Regions from separate parts of the Homo sapiens genome. Here all the other regions are linked to region 1. Evidence: promoter capture Hi-C in 16 types of primary human blood cells and fetal thymus (Javierre and others, 2016). All regions are on one chromosome and are shown on one strand. Each heading gives the region's core, a stretch centred on a gene start or on the middle of the fragment in contact. The rest is flanking DNA. Distances are from core to core; before and after follow the strand shown. Region 1 holds the start of CMTM4 (CKLF like MARVEL transmembrane domain containing 4). Region 2 overlaps CMTM2 (CKLF like MARVEL transmembrane domain containing 2). Region 3 overlaps TERB1 (telomere repeat binding bouquet formation protein 1).

What was found. The method cuts DNA at HindIII sites, captures the fragments that hold promoters and counts their contacts. A CHiCAGO score of 5 or more calls a contact.
Region 2: a fragment that was not itself captured here is called in contact with the fragment with the promoter of CMTM4 in region 1 in 5 of 17 cell types (naive CD8 T cells, activated CD4 T cells, non-activated CD4 T cells and 2 more); the score reaches 6.4 in naive CD8 T cells.
Region 3: a fragment that was not itself captured here is called in contact with the fragment with the promoter of CMTM4 in region 1 in 1 of 17 cell types (naive B cells); the score reaches 5.0 in naive B cells.

What each region holds. Positions count from the first base shown.
Region 1 is chr16:66,695,456-66,698,079 of GRCh38, reverse strand. It overlaps CMTM4 (CKLF like MARVEL transmembrane domain containing 4), which reads left to right and starts at 1,337. Exons shown (of 4, transcript NM_181521.3): 1 at 1,337-1,740. The coding sequence starts at 1,555. RefSeq lists silencers at 695-774, 805-864, 1,105-1,444, 1,535-1,824 and an enhancer at 1,295-2,134. The HindIII fragment of the contact is 10,204 bases long and covers 691-2,624 here.
Region 2 is chr16:66,580,146-66,582,769 of GRCh38, reverse strand. It overlaps CMTM2 (CKLF like MARVEL transmembrane domain containing 2), which reads right to left. Exons shown (of 4, transcript NM_144673.3): 2 at 2,586-2,624. Among named protein-coding and RNA genes, the nearest start is that of CMTM2, 2.0 kb to the right of the region's middle. The HindIII fragment of the contact is 685 bases long and covers 995-1,679 here.
Region 3 is chr16:66,764,931-66,767,554 of GRCh38, reverse strand. It overlaps TERB1 (telomere repeat binding bouquet formation protein 1), which reads left to right. Exons shown (of 19, transcript NM_001136505.2): 16 at 45-140. Among named protein-coding and RNA genes, the nearest start is that of DYNC1LI2-DT, 14 kb to the right of the region's middle. The HindIII fragment of the contact is 2,733 bases long and covers 1-2,624 here.

The DNA.
Region 1 (2,624 bases), core at 88-2,587:
ACAATTATTTAAAGTATACGAGAAGATGTGTGTAGGTTATATGTAAATACTACACCATTTTATATAAAGGATTTGAGAGCATCTTCAGATTTTGGTATTTGAGGGGGTCCTGAAAACAAGCTCCCTCTCTTGCCCCCATACAGAAGGACAACAGTATTAGAGTCACTGTCCTTCCTATCTTTGAAAAAGTTGAGGGCTGGGCATGGTCAGTCACACCTGTAATCCCAGCAATTTGGGAGGCTGAGGCAGGAGGATCCCCTGAGCCCGGGAGTTCGAGATCAGCCTGGGCAACACAGTGAGGCCCTATCTCTACAAAAATAATGATGATGAAAATAATAAATAACTTTTTTTTAAAAAAAGAAAAAGTAGGAACCTGGGCTCTGCCCACCAATGAACTGTGTGACCTTGGACAAGCTACTTCCAGTCTGCAGCCTTAGTCTCTTCTTCTGTAAAATAGAAATAACAACGATACGTTCTTCAAGCGCCTTGCTCAGTGCCTAGAACATGGCAAGCTCTCGGTATTTGTGGTTGTGGAAGGGTTCAATATCAAAGCGACACTTCTTAGTCAGTGTTTTACTTAGCTTAAAATTAGCCTTCACACTTGAATTGTAAATTGGTCCCTAATTAATGCCCTTCGGGGCAAAATCTGTGTTTAACCTTACTTTATGCGTAGACAGAGCTAGCAAAGCTTTTCAGCTGAGAGGAGAGGAACATGTCAGTCGCCTGGGTCAGGCCGGCGGGGACAACCTGCAGTGGGGCGGCTCCTCACCCTGCCCCGCCCGCCCCTGGCCTCGGAACCGGTTTGTTCCAGGCGCCCAGCGTGAGAACACAGGCACTTACCCACCTCTCGTCGGCCCAATAGTCTGAGTCAAGCCCACCCTGGCCACGCACCGTTCCCGGCACCCGGGTGGCGCAGCCCGTCTCTGTCTTTACCGAGAAGCTCCCCACCCTATGCGTCGAGGACCCCACTTTCTTCAAAGGAGAACCTGAGGCAGCGTCTGGGAAAGCAACTCCATGGCCTCCAGGTCCACCTCGACCCTTTCCTCAGCCCCAAGACCCCGCTGCCTGAACCCCATCGCCCCGCGTGCCGGGATCGCCAGCGCCCACCAGCGGCTCCCGCCCCGGCTCTAGGCGCAGGTGGGGGCGGGGCCAGGGCGGGGCCTGAGGAGCCGGCGCCCCGCCTCGCCCCGCCCCTCCCCGAGGCCCGCGGCGCCGCCGCCTCCACCTCGCTCGAGCCGCGGAGCGCCTCCGAGCGGCCGGCTGCGGCCTGGCTCCGCCTCTCCCGGCCCGGCGCGCCCGCTCCCGCCTCCTTCCCTCTCCTGGCTCCCACCTCCCTCCCTTTCCGCTGCCGAGGCGGCGGGAGCCGAGCCCGAGCGGACCGAGCCGCAGCCGCAGCCGGGCGGCGGGCGAGAGGCGGCGGCGGCGGGCGGGCCGCGGGCAGTCAGTCGGGCGGCGGCGGCGGCGGCGGCGGCGGCGATGCGGCGGCCCCGCTGAGTCCGCCCGCTCCTGGCGCCGGGAGCCAGCCGCGCGAGGCGGCCCGGGCCGGGCGGCAGCATGCGGAGCGGCGAGGAGCTGGACGGCTTCGAGGGCGAGGCCTCGAGCACCTCCATGATCTCGGGCGCCAGCAGCCCGTACCAGCCCACCACCGAGCCGGTGAGCCAGCGCCGCGGGCTGGCCGGCCTGCGCTGCGACCCCGACTACCTGCGCGGCGCGCTCGGCCGCCTCAAGGTCGCCCAAGTGGTAGGTGCCGGGCGGGGCCCCAGGTGCCCGAGGGCGGCCTAGCCGCACGCCTCCCTCCCCGCCCCGCTGCGGGGCCTCCGCCGCGTACCCGCTTGCCCAGGCCGGAGCCCGCTCCTCGCGCCCCCTCTCCCTCGTGGGGTCCCGGGACCACTCTGCAGCCTTCTCTGGGGACCCCGCCTTCGGCCAGAGCCTGCCCTTCCCAGGCCGGCAGCCTCAGGTGTGCGCCTCCTACCTGAGCACCTGCCTTCGGGCCTACCTGTCCGCTCCGCCCTCGCTCCCGGGAGTCTGTGGCGTTACTGGGCTGGGTGCTGCTGGGAATCCTGCTGTCTCCTGGGTACAGCTGGTCTTAGCAACCTGTGGCAGGTTTTCCCGGCCCGCGCAACCTCCGGACGGTGCCTGTTTCTGCCTGCGGAGACGAGGGACTGTGGTTTGGTTCCCACTTGATGTCTAGCTGGGTGCCAGGCGTATATGGTAGGCGCTTAGTAAGTATTTGCTGGATGGAGGCAGGTAGCCCTGATGCAGTGGAGGAGCCCAGATATGCCCACAATTCTCTACACTGCAGAGGTTTGTGTCCTTCTAACCAAGAAGACAGACTTGGCATCCCGGAATCCACCGCCCAGCACGGTGGCTGGCACTGCCCAATTGGTACCCAGAGTTAAATCTGGGAGGGCAGCCAGTTTTGGAGGTAGCAGAAACAGAGAACTTTCTGTTGGACTTGTCTGTAGTAGAGCTCATTTCTCAGGGTCCTGTGTTTTAGCTTCCAGGGTGTTCTGGGCAGGGGCCTCTCAGCTCTGTTCCTGCTTTGTGGTTTTGTAACATGCCTCTGCGGGCAATTGCTTAGCTCTGTTGTGGGCATGCTCTAATTCAGAAAAACCCGTGTGTCC
Region 2 (2,624 bases), core at 88-2,587, 120 kb after region 1:
CCTGAGAAGCTGGGACTACAGGCACACATCACTGTGCCTGGCTTCTTGACACCTCTTTTATTATTTTTTAGACAGGGTCTCACTCTGTCACTCAGATTGGAGTGCAGTGGCACCATCAGAGCTCTCTGTAGCCTTGACCTCCTGGGTTCAAGCCATCCTCCCACCTCAGCCTCCTGAGTAGCTGGAACAACAGGCATGTGCCACCATGCTTGGCTAATTTTTAAATTTTTTTGTAGAGACAGGGTCTCCCTATGTTGTCCAGTCTGGTCTCAAACTCCTGGACCAAAGGGACCCATCCACCTCAGCCTCCCAACGTGCTGGGATTACAGGTGTGAGCCACCACACCCAGCCCAACAACCACTGATGGATGTTCTCACTCATTGTTCTGTCTCAATCTCTTATTTTCTCTCTCTCTGTGTGCTGTGTTCTGGGTAATTTCCCCATACCTTTCAGTTAACAGTTCCCTCCTTCAGCTATGTCTGATCTGTTTTTGAATTCATCTATTGACATTTTTATTTCAATAACTATATTTTCTATTCTAGACACTGTACTTTTTAAAAATCTGTCTATTTTGTCCTCATAGTGTCTTACTCTTTTCTCAGGACTCTTATGTCTATAATCCCTTAAAATATATTATTATTTTCAGACAGCTCTTCTATTATCTCATATTCTCAGGATTCTAATCCATTTGTTGTGTTTGTTGATTCTTAGTAATGGGGATTTTTTAAAATCAGGTGTTTAGTAGTTTTGAATTATTAGTTCATTTTTGACAAGGTTTTCCCCCCACCCCCACTGTGAGAATCTCTTCATGCCTTGATTGTGATTTTGCATTTGTTTCTATCAGGAGTCCAAGGATATCAGCAGAATGTCATCAGACTGGGATCAGTTTTTATGGTAATTCCCAGGGATGAAGGTTTCTGGGCTGCATGAAGGTTTCTAGGCTGCAGATAACAAAAATTCAAACTCCAATCTGTACAAAGGGCAGGCTTAAGCTTTCTATTTCTCAAGGAAGACTTCCTCTCCGCCCACTCAAAGCTCAGGCAGAGATGAACATGTTTTCTTATTCCTCTGTGTTGGGAATAAGAAGGGTATGTGTCTTTGTCCATCTTTTCCCTAAGGAGGTAGTCTTTCCAGGGCGCTGGCTTTATACAGGGTTTTCAGTTCTAAATTCCCACTTTGCTTAGGATCAAGGCCTTATTTCCTGACTTGAGAGTGCATGAAAATCCAGGCTGTAGGTTCCTGAGACAATACCTCTTGGACCATTCCCACTCATACTTTGTAGCTTATGTGATCACTGCCCTGTTTGCCATTTCTGGCGCCTGTGTGTTTTCATTTCTTTTTTGCCAGCTCATTCATTCAGTTAAAGCAATACTGGTTACATTTCCCCTGGTATTTTTAGGTAAGCACAGTGGGAAGATGTTCAGGGTTCATTGGTTTTTCATCTTGCTGGAACTAAAAATGTCTTCTCAGGCTCCTTGTTTAGGAACTTGTCCTCTGCCTGTCCTTTTACCTTGTCCTCTGCTTGTCCCTTTTCTGAGAGTCCTTATTTGGCCCTCCTGTCCTTTCTCCCTGTATCGGAGGTCCTCATCTGCTTCACCAAGACCTCTGGATCCCTGGACCCTAATAGTTTTTAACAAGAAGGCAGGATGAAATGTACTCATAAAGCTAAGTTTGAAGCTTTTTTCTGCTACTTACCAGCTGAGTGACCTGGGGGCAAGTTACTTGGCCATTCTAGGCCAATTTCCTCATGTGTAACGTGAGTGAAACAGTGAACAAGAGGGCTCTGGAGGCAGGCTGTGAATGTGCAATGAACAAAGGGACTTGGGAATTGGGGTCTTCATTGACTGGCAAGGGGTTAGGTGGTTGTGCCCTGTGGTTAAACAGGTGATGGGCAGGGATTCAATTCCATGAGTCCTCAGGCACGGTGTCAAGCAATTTACATTTAATCCTCAGGATTGAATGTCAGTTCTGCAAGGAATGTGACTGTCTCATGTTACAGATGAGGAAACAGGCTGGGAATGGTTTAGTAACTTGCCCAGTTCTGTCTCTTTCCACTAGATGACTGCTTTGGGCTGAACATCCTTCTGATCCAAACATCCTTTATAGGGATATTCACTGGAGACCTAACGCTGCTTTAGAAGTGATTTTTAAAAAAAATTCCCATTTTGTTTTATTTTATTGACTTATGGGAGAGTAATTTTCTTCTTTGAATTTTGGGAATGGGGTCCTTCTGGGGTGATCTCCTGTCAAGTGTGAGCTGGCACAGGAGTTCGGAGGAACAGCTGGTTGCTACACCTCCCCTTCCCCTAAAGAGAACAAAGGCTCAGGCCCTCTTTGACCACCAGGTAAGTAAGAGTTCCCCACTCTCACTCCAACACACAGATAGGCTTTTTGGAGCATTTTCTGCCTAGCTACCCCTCTTGCACCCAGCTGCCTCTGCCTGGGCCCCACTGATGTTCTGAGTCCCTGACCCAGGCACAGATATGGGAGGTGAGGTGTGTCTCTCTGTTTGGTGACTTTCCAGGTGCCAAGACACACCTGATCAGCATTCTGGATGCAGGCACTCCCCATCACCCCTTACTTACAGAAATGGGCCACAGGATGAAGGGTATGTATCTATGAAT
Region 3 (2,624 bases), core at 86-2,585, 69 kb before region 1:
CTTTTCATTAATCCAAAAATCCTTCATTTTGCAATTTTTTTCAGATCCATTTACATTATGTTCAGATATAATAAATAAAGAAGTAGTCAGTTTTCTAGCAACTCCCAGTTGTTCCGAAATGTTGACGTATAGGTGCTCAGGTAAGTATTTTTTTAATTGCAGTTGTTTCACAGTCAAAGCCTTTTATGATATTAACTAGAATTTTTTTTTTTTTTTGATACAGAGTCTTACTCTGTCACCCAGGCTGGAGTGCAGTGGCGCGATCTTGGCTCACTGCACTCTCCACCTCCCAGGTTCAAGTAATTCTTGTGCCTCAGCCTCCCAAGTAGCTGGGATTACAGGTGCCCACTACCACACCTGGCTAATTTTTTTTTTTTTTTTGTATTTTTTCGTAGAGCAGGTTTTACCATGTTGGCCAAACTGATCTTGAACTCCTGACCTCAAATGATCTGCCTGCCTCAGCCTCTCAAAGTGCTGGTGTTACAGACATGAGCCACCACGCTTATTGTAATTAACTAGAATTTATAATAGTTCTACATGTATGATTTACTTTGTTCCCTTTGGAGAAATAATACTGTGGAATATCAAAGCATTCAAATTAATATCTTCTATCTGGGCCAGGTGAGGCAGCTGTAATCTCAACACTTTGGAAGGCCAAGGCTGGAGGATTTCTTGAGGCCAGGAGTTCAAAACCAGCATGGTCAACATAGCGAGACCTTGTCTCTATAATTAAAAACAAAGCAAAACAAAAAAAACACCTTTTATCAGCATCAGGCTGAGCTTCCAATATTTGTATGTATGAATAAACACAGTTAGTACCTTTTTATTACTTTATTATCTTTTTGTCTTAATACCATCTATGAATTTAACCTTACTGAGTAAAATAAACATTTTTTAATGTTTTCAGAGAGCCGTTATTACTAGGTATGCATTCTGGATTATCCTGTAAACATAGGCATTAAGTTTTAAAAATACCTATTTTTATATTTATAATATGTAAATGTTTCTACTGTTTCATGTTCATTATTTGTTTTTTCTGCAGGGCTCTTGTAAATGTTCCACAATACTTATTCCATCCCTTCTCCTCCTCCTTCACACCCCGGTATTTCCTCTTTTTTCATCTTGCTGTTGTACTCTGCTCTATGGACAAAATTGAGGTTCTCTATATTCGGCTCAGAACATCATTGTTCTTCCCTCTTGGATGAAGAGGTTATCTCTATTCTTCTAAAACTGATGTCCAGCCATAAGCTGAATCTCATATCTTTTTTTTCTCCACATTTTAATACTAATTGCAAAATCTTTCTCTTCACTTCCATTCTATTCATTAACTCCTTTTGTTCCACCTTGAACTATGCTCATTTTTCCTCATCTTAAAAAAATACCCGGCCGGGCGCGGTGGCTCACGCCTGTAATCCCAGCACTTTGGGAGGCCGAGGCGGGTGGATCATGAGGTCAGGAGATCGAGACCATCCTGGCTAACAAGGTGAAACCCCGTCTCTACTAAAAATACAAAAAATTAGCCGGGCGCGGTGGCGGGCGCCTGTAGTCCCAGCTACTCGGGAGGCTGAGGCAGGAGAATGGCGTGAACCCGGGAAGCGGAGCTTGCAGTGAGCCGAGATTGCGCCACTGCAGTCCGCAGTCCGGCCTGGGCGACAGAGCGAGACTCCGTCTCAAAAAAAAAAAAAAAAAAAAAAAAAAAAAAAAATACCCAATAGTTTGTTTGATTTGCTATCCTTTCAATTATTCATCCACTCCTCCCAGCAGATGCACATATACCATTAGAAAGTAAATGTATTAGGCCGGGTGTGGTGGCTCATGTCTGTAATCCTAGCACTTTGGGAGGCCGAGGCGGGTGGATTACCTGAGCTCAGGAGTTCAAGACCAGCCTGGTCAACACGGTGAAACCCCGTCTCTACTAAAATACAAAAAATTAGCTGGGCATGGCAGCATGAGCCAGTAATCCCAGCTACTCGGGAGGCTGAGACAGGAGAATTGCTTGAACCTGGGAGGCAGAGGTTGCAGTGAGCTGAGATCATGCCATTGCACTCCAGCCTTGGTGACAGAGCGAGATTCTGTCTCCAAAAAAAAAAAAAGAAAGAAAGAAAGTAAATGTATTTAATAAGAATAAAAAAGTACAAATATTTCTTTCAGTTTAATTGTATTATTTTTTCAAATGGCTACTAAGTTGTTAGAACATAAATACTTATTAAGTTGTCTTGGATCTGACAGAATCATTAGGCATTTCTTTTGGCTTAGAGGTGCCATGAACCTAGAAAGTTTGGGAATCTCTGGTCAAAAGTATTCTAGGTGGCAAAGTGGATGTTCTGTAATTGCTTAGTTTGTATGAGATGGTTATTTCCTTGTTCCTTTCTCCCCTAGTTACCATTCATTCATTCCACAAACATTATGGAGTGCTTAGTCCTTGGCTGGCACTGGAATCGAAGATGAATAGAACTCAGTCTTCACCTTTATCTCTCTCTTCCTGCCAGATTGCCACAAGTATTCTCCTCAAGACCTAGTCTATAGCACCTACGCAGTTCTTTCACTACATTTACTTTTGTAGCATCATCTATCATTTTATTGATGGTTTTCAAATATGTATCTTGACTTTTGGCTTCTAACGT